Linked DNA regions of Homo sapiens: region 1 is linked to region 2. The links are contacts of gene promoters, found by promoter capture Hi-C in human tissues and cell types (Jung and others, 2019). All regions are on one chromosome and are shown on one strand. The core of a region is centred on a gene start or on the middle of the fragment in contact, and the rest is flanking DNA. Distances in the headings are between cores, read along the strand shown.

What was found. The method cuts DNA at HindIII sites, captures the fragments that hold promoters and counts their contacts. A contact is called where the count stands out against the background at its distance.
Region 1: a fragment that was not itself captured here is called in contact with the fragment with the promoter of SIX2 in region 2 in 1 of the 25 tissues and cell types used here (IMR-90 fibroblasts).

Annotation. Positions count from the first base shown.
Region 1 is chr2:45,040,103-45,043,669 of GRCh38, forward strand. No RefSeq gene overlaps it. Among named protein-coding and RNA genes, the nearest start is that of SIX2, 32 kb to the left of the region's middle. RefSeq lists enhancers at 1-661, 332-831. The HindIII fragment of the contact is 7,520 bases long and covers 1-3,567 here.
Region 2 is chr2:45,007,282-45,010,941 of GRCh38, forward strand. SIX2 (SIX homeobox 2) reads right to left here and starts at 2,171. Exons shown (of 2, transcript NM_016932.5): 1 at 1,270-2,171. The coding sequence starts at 1,829. RefSeq lists enhancers at 866-1,639, 2,644-3,243. The HindIII fragment of the contact is 8,583 bases long and covers 1-3,660 here.

The DNA.
Region 1 (3,567 bases), core at 1,042-3,541, 33 kb after region 2:
TGCAAGTCACAGGGGATGTGATGGCTTGGCTTGGGCTCAGAGGCCTGACAATCTTTGTCTCCGCTCGTGCCCATGACCTGCTGGCCAAGCTCACTGACCTTGGGAGTACACCAAATCAAGCTGGAATAGTCTTTTTTTCCCCAGGAGTTTTGTAACTTTGATTCACTGAAGCCATAAGTTGGCACCAGGTGCCCTGGAAAGTCCACAAATCCTGCTGCTCAGGCCTCACTGCCCTGCTTCCTTTTCACCTGGGGTGCAGCTTTTTATTGCATTCTGATAGTTCTTCTAGAAATCGTCTAGTAAATATAAAACATTCTCCTTGCCTTCTGGATTGTTTCTTATTTATTTAGCCAGCAGCTGTTGGTGTCCAGTACTAGTGACTACAATCACCTTAACCAATACCAGCCACAATTGAAGCATGGCTTAGTGCTGAAGAGGCCAAGCCTGCACTTGAATCTTGCCATCACACTCACCAGCTGTGTGACTTTGGGCACATCACTTTTTCTCTGAGTCCCAGTCTCCTTATCAAAATGAGGAAAATAAGCCCCAATGCATAGATTAATTGTGTGGATTTTCTGAGATAATCTATGCTTGGCATGCATTACATTCTGAAAAAAACAAAACAAAACAAAACAAAACGATTAGCTGCTGTTATATTATTATTTGAGTTTAAAGGGTTGCAAGCAGGCTCCCTGGAACTGGGAGCTCCCATTTACCATGCTTGGTGTAGCACACTGATAACAAACACAGATGATAAAGGGGGCTAGACTGATTTTTTAAGTGGCCTTTTGACATGCAGTGGAAGGCACTTGACCTCTGACAGCAGATTAATTTCTAGAACAGAGTCCCAGGCTTGGTGTCCCTTCTGGATTATCCAGCTATTTACATCACAAAGGGGAGTCATGTGGGTGTGCCAGCTCTGTGGATTGGAGCAGAGTCTGAACTGATGAGGTCAATGTTTGAGCATACAAACTGAAGAAGTTCTTTCCAGGCCATAGACTGCATACCCTTTTTAGCCATCCAGTATGTGCAGTGAGGATGCAGTCAATGGCCTGGAAGAGTATTTCTCACCTGGGGGAGAGTGTGGTTGGCTCCATGGAACCCCTTGCCACTGCTGGAAAGAGTCCAGAATGTTTGCTCCTAGCTGAGTGTTTGGCAGGGGTTGTTAGTCCACTGGGGTTTCAGGTACTGAGGTGTCTGGGGTATGAGACTTGGAGATAGTGTCAGAGAATTTTGCTGCTGGTAATAAAATAAAACTCCAAGTAGATTTAGCTCTGGAAGGGCTTTCTTGATGTGGGAAAAACAACTGGGACCAAATGGCCCTTGTGTGTCAATGCTAGTCATTCTTGGGGCTTGCCACTACCCACCCCACTGCCACCCCTTGGCTCCCACTACCTTCTTAGGCCCAGTAGCTGAGGTTGCTATTTTATTCTTTTTTTTCCTCTTTTTCTGGGACAGGGTCTTGCTCTGTTGCTCAGGCTGGAGTGCAGTGACACGATCATGGCTCATTGCAGCTTGGAACTCTGGGCCTCAAATGATGTTCCCATGGCAGCCTCCTGAGTAGCTGGGACTACAGGTGTGTGCTACCGTGCCTGGCTTCTTTTTTTTTTTTTTTTTGAGTAGAGACAGGATCTTACTATGCTGCTCAGGCTGATCTCAAACTCCTGGGCTCAAGCAATCCTCTCGCTTTGGCCTCCCAATGTGCTGGGATTACAGGCATGCCCCACCGCACCCAGCCTGTGGCTGCGCTTTCAATGCCCCAGTCCAACTGGGCACAAACCCTTTGTCTTATCTCCCTTTAGCTCAGATGTGGCAGCTGGAATTTCTCAAAATCTGGAAATCTTAAGGGAGGACCCAGAAAATAAGAGTAGAAGAAGAGTAAAAACCAGGCTGGCTTCAAGAGAACAGAGACCTCCTGCCCACCTGTTTTATTCCCAGAGGGTCCCAAGAAGAGATTTATTTCTCCCTTCTTGTCCCAAAGGGTTGGGCCACCTCTGCAGGCACTTGCTGGCTTTCCTTCTTAGCTTCCTCTGGGCTTTCTCCAGGGAGTGGGCGCTAAATCACCATCCCTACCCAGGTAGCCTCTCCTACACAGCTTAGCCCTCCTTAGTTCTCCCTTAATATGCAAGGCTGGAAGGACCCCAGGAAAAACCTCAGGTCTTCAGAGGAGGCTTTGTCTGCCACAGACTGGAAGCAATGCCGGCTTCATGCAGGTCTGCAGTTGAGGCAGCAACTATCTAAGTGTTACCCACCAAGTCCAGAGGGCTGTTTTCTCACAGAGGTTTTAGGTACATGTTTCTTTCATTGGAAAACTAAAATTCAAATGTGGTTAAATGACATGCCCAAGGTCACTGATTGATTCTGAAATTACGGTTCAATTCATGTCCCCTGATGGCAAGCCTTGTTCTCTTTACCTTATACACACACCCTGAGATTGTATTGTTTCATGCCTGCCTTCCCCACTTCTCTCTCCTCTCCTCCCCCAGAATTCACTGTCCCATGACCAAAGTCCTTGGAGCTATTTTGATTTACAGATGAAGGAAACATTTACAGAAACTCAGTGGACACTCAATAAGTCTCAGTTGAATGACATTGACAGAAAGAGTTGTTGATAATCGTAGAGATAATAATGCAACTAAATGATCCATTTTAAAGGGGAAAAAGTCTTTCTGAAAAGGAATAGACAGCAGTGATTTAAAATCTGATGACTCTGTGGTCCCAGGGTAATTTTTCATGGCGTTACATTCTGGCTTCCACAGTGCTTTTGGTAAGGGGACATACCTATTTCACAAGAGTGGAGGATAACATAATAATTAATATTAAACATTTTTCTTTGAAGGTTCTGCAATTGAGTAACAAAAACCAGCAAAGCTTTAGTATGAGAAGCCAGGGAATCATGGCCATAGGAATAACATTCATATTAAATTGATTTAAATGACAGCCTCAAATACAATGCGATTAAAAGAAATACAACAAACATGTGGTGGAGTTTAGAGCATCTGGGTCTGTTTAAATTGCTCTTGTTTTTCAAGATCAAGGGTATTATTGATAAAAACAAAAATCTTTGTAATCACTAAATTTAATCCAACTAACGATGATGAGAAGACCGTTGTAAACATGAAACATAACTTGGGAACTAAATCTTACATATTTTCCTTTTTGGGAAAGGCATGCTTTCAGTCACTTGCACTGGAGAACGCTGCAGGACCAGCAAGGCAGGGTTTATGGGCTAATCAGTTGCCAGAGAGACAGCCCCAACCAGCCGGCACTTCAGAAGGTTGGAACTGTTAGCCACAGCAACGCTGAACAGCAGCAGGGAATTACCTCTGGTCTCATAAAACCTGTAGGAGGAAAAGAAGCAATTGTGCATCTTCCTTCCTTCCTTCCTTCCTCCCTCCCTCCCTCCCTCCCTCCCTCCCTCCCTCCCTCTGTCCCTCCGTCCCTCCCTCTCTGCTTTCTTCCTTCCTTACTGTCTCTTCTTTCTTCCTTTCCTTCCTTACTCTCTCTTCTTCCTTTCCTTTCTCTTTCCTTTCCATTTGCTGAGGCTGGGCTCACATGCTCCTACTG
Region 2 (3,660 bases), core at 921-3,420:
AGGTTTTCAGGAGTCTGATCACATGCCGGTTTGGGTGGAGGGGGACCCAGCAGAGAGAACCCACCTCCTTCTATGCCTTTGACTGACAGCTCCTCCCCAGATTTGGATATTTAAAATCCTGGGTAGGATCTCTTGTCACCAGCTTCGGGAGGGTTTTTCTTTCTGCTTTCCTGGGAGGGAGCTTCCCACAGGGCTGGCAGCTGAGACCTCACCACTGTGGAAACTCCAACCTCAGGGTCTCAGATACCTGGAAGTATCTGAGCCTGCAGCACTCCCCCTAAGATGTTTCTGGTTCAGCACCCTCACCTCTGACCCTGATCATTCAAACTCAGGGTGGAACACACCCCATATCACCAACCCCAGGTGTCCTGTTTTGCTCTTACCCCGGGCTGGATTCTGTTCCCATAATAAGTTTCTCTCCAGGTTTGAGGTCCTGAGGGGTTATAGGGCAGGCAGTGGCAAGGGCCTAATGATCAACCTTTAGGCTGGTTCAGGAAGTCCTGGTTTACCTGAGGACATCCAACTCCCAGCCCCTCTGTGCCTCTCAGCTCACCGCAGACATTCCGACCTACCCATCAGAGGTAGGGCCTAAGGAGAGAGGCATCAAGGGCCTGGAGTGCCAGGGAAGGGCGGCTATCTCTAGCAAGGCAGAAAACAGGGCATGCGTCTCTTCTCTCCCAGAACTGACACTTCCTCCCTTTCACCTCTGGATCCTTTCTAAGGAGATAAAGGACCCGCTCTCAACTCCATGTGACAACGAAAATTCATGGCCTGGCTTTTCCCCATCCAGGTCATTCTAGGGAAGTTCCAGCCCCAGTCCCGACCCCATCACACTTTGGCCTGGAGCTAAGGCTGGGGGGAAATGCCGGGAAGCACCACCAGCAAGAAATCTGCAAATCCCCTTTCATCTGGGCTCAAACCCCTCTGTCCTGAGGATGACCAGACCTACTGTGCCTGCCTCACAGGGGATACAGGCCCACAGTTCTGCGCTGCCCCGAAGCTCTCTGCTTCTCCACCCTTTTCCTCTAGCGACCGAGTAGTTAGTTGACAACTTCCTGAATTGCTCTGCCCGCTTTAGACAAATCCCTGCTCGCCGGGTCTCCGGCATAGAAAGGCCTAAGCATCGTCCAAGTCAGGCCGGGCTGCCGCTGGGCTGTGGCCGGGCCTGGGGGCCCAGTTTAGGCCTCTCCGGGGGACCGGCAGAAGCCCTGCGAACCCCTCCCTTGGGCCCCGGGGAGCTGGCGCCGAAGAAGGTCTACTTACTCGTACCTTTCCTTGGCCTCGGCCGCCCGGTCGCGCTGCCGCCGGTTCTTGAACCAGTTGCTGACCTGTGTGGTGGTGAGGCCCGTGGCCTCCGCCAGCTCACGCTTCTCGCGGGGTGAAGGGTAGGGGTTGTGCGCGTACCACTCGCGCAGCACGCTGCGACTCTTTTCCTTGAAGCAGTAGCTGGTCTCCTCGCCGTCCCAGATGGAGCGCGGCAGCGGGAATTTGCGGCGCACGCGGTATTTGCCCACGGCGCCCAGGGGTCGGCCGCGCAGCTTCTCCGCCTCGATGTAGTGTGCCTTGAGCCACAGCTGCTGCAGCTTGGCGTGGTTGTGCGGCGAGAACTGGTGGCTCTCCAGGATCTTGTAGAGCTCGCGGAAGTTGCCGCGGTGGAAGGCCACCACGGCCTTGGCCTTGAGCACGCTTTCATTCTTGTGAAGGTGCTCGCAGGCGGGCAGCGACCACAGGAAGCGGCCCAGCCGCTCGATGTTGCCGCCCTGCTGCAGCACCTCGCACACGCACGCCACTTGCTCCTGCGTGAAGCCGAAGGTGGGCAGCATGGACATGGTGCCGGCTGCGTCCCCGCCCGCCCGCGCGCGCCCTCACCGGGCCGCGCGGTCCCGCATGGGAGCTTCCTCGCCGGGCCGTCCGGGCCGAGACGCGGGCGGGGCTGGCCCCCTGGCCCGGCACTGGCCCCCGGTGAGCCCCGAGTCACTGCCGTACGTCCCCGCGCCGGCCGCGGGTCCCACGAAGCTCCGAACCCCAACGGCCCGCGCGCCTGGCCCAAGCCCTCGCCCAAGCCCGGGGGCCGCCCGGGGCGCCGCTCCGCATGCTCCGCGCCCGCCCGCCGTTCCCTCGCTCGCTTCTCACTCGTTCTCCCTCCCGTCTAGCTGGCTCTCAGCTTTCTTAATAATATTATTCTAAGCGGGCATGAGGCGCGGCGGCCCGCGCCCTGATTGGTCCGGTTATCTGACCCGGGGCCTGCCAGCGCCAGACAATAGTCGGAGTCAAATTATTCGCCATGGAGACGCTGTCAGTCACTGGTAACCCGAGCCTCGGCGGGCCGGGCGGCTCCCCCCGGCCGGCTCCGCTGACAGATCGCCCCGCTCCGCGCAGAACTGAGGGCGGCTCTACTGGAGCCTGGGGCGCTCTGAGAGCCTGGGAGGCGGAGAGGGGCCGGGTTGGGGCCGGCGGCGGCGGAGATTGACGGGGCGGATGCCCAAAGAGGGAGGGAGGAGGAGGACAGGAGAGCGGGGGGAGCGGGCGAAGACGAAAAGGGGTGGATCGAGGTGGGGAGAGAAGAGGAGAGAAGGGAAGGCGGAGACCGTTTAAGGGGGTGTCCAGGAGGAAGGGGAGGGAGAGGGGTGGAAGGAGACTCCAGGGGAAGAAAGTTTGGGCAGCTTTGGCTAGGAGAGGGCTCTGCAGCCTCGCCCAGACCCTACAGGGTTCCCCTTCTCCCCAGGTCACCGCGTCCCTCCCAGGCTCTCTGTTCACCGGGCACATTCTACCCCGGCGCAGGCCAGTGGGATGGGAGAGTTTGGACGTGCTCGGGTGCCGCCCAAAGACTTGGCTTTTTCTGCTGACAGCGCCCCACCCCCATCCTAGAAACTCTGGACTCAGCGGTCCTCGAGGGAAAAGGGGAGGGAGTAGACGAAAGAAATGGGGAAGATTTGGCAGTGGCCGCAGGCGGACGCCGGAGAATCGACTTCCCGGAGGATCCCGCCTTTCCTCCCTCTCCTAGCCCCGCCGGCTGCCTGGCGGCCTGTACCGCCCCAACTCTGCGCTCTCTGCTCCTCGCCGGGCGGGGACTCAGACTTAACCCCACGGGTCCCACAGCCCGAGGAGCGCCAGGCAGTTCCGTGTGGCCTCTATGGAAGCTGACTCCGGCCGGCAGCTGCGACGCAGAACCCCGGACGGCGCAGACCCGCAGTCTGCCCACCGGGGCGGGGGAGAGGGGCGACGGCAGGGACTCTAGGACGGTGGTGGGGCTTCCCCGGTGGGTGGTCGGGGAGGAGAACGGAGGCAAGATTCCCAGTCCTCCCGCTTCGCCGCTGGGGATCGGCTCGGCTCCTGGCCACTCCAGCCTGGGAACCGGCTCGCTGAGCTCCGGGATGAGGTGCTTTAAAAGGGGGTCCTGTTTTTTGCTTCTTTGTCAGGGTGCCAATGGAAACATGTGGTGCTGGTCCTGTGGGAGAAGGGCTCGCACAAAGGTGGGAGAACTGAGGATGGGTGTGTTCTTGCTCTACGTTTTGAAAAGCCCGGGGCTTAGCTCCTTCCCGGACATGTCCTTTCCACTTCCTTCAGTTTCCTCCTCTTCCCCCCTCAGCTGCTGCAGGCCAGGAGCTCCTAGGGCCATACTCAGTGCCTGACCCAAGCCAGCACAAATCCTGGGCTCTG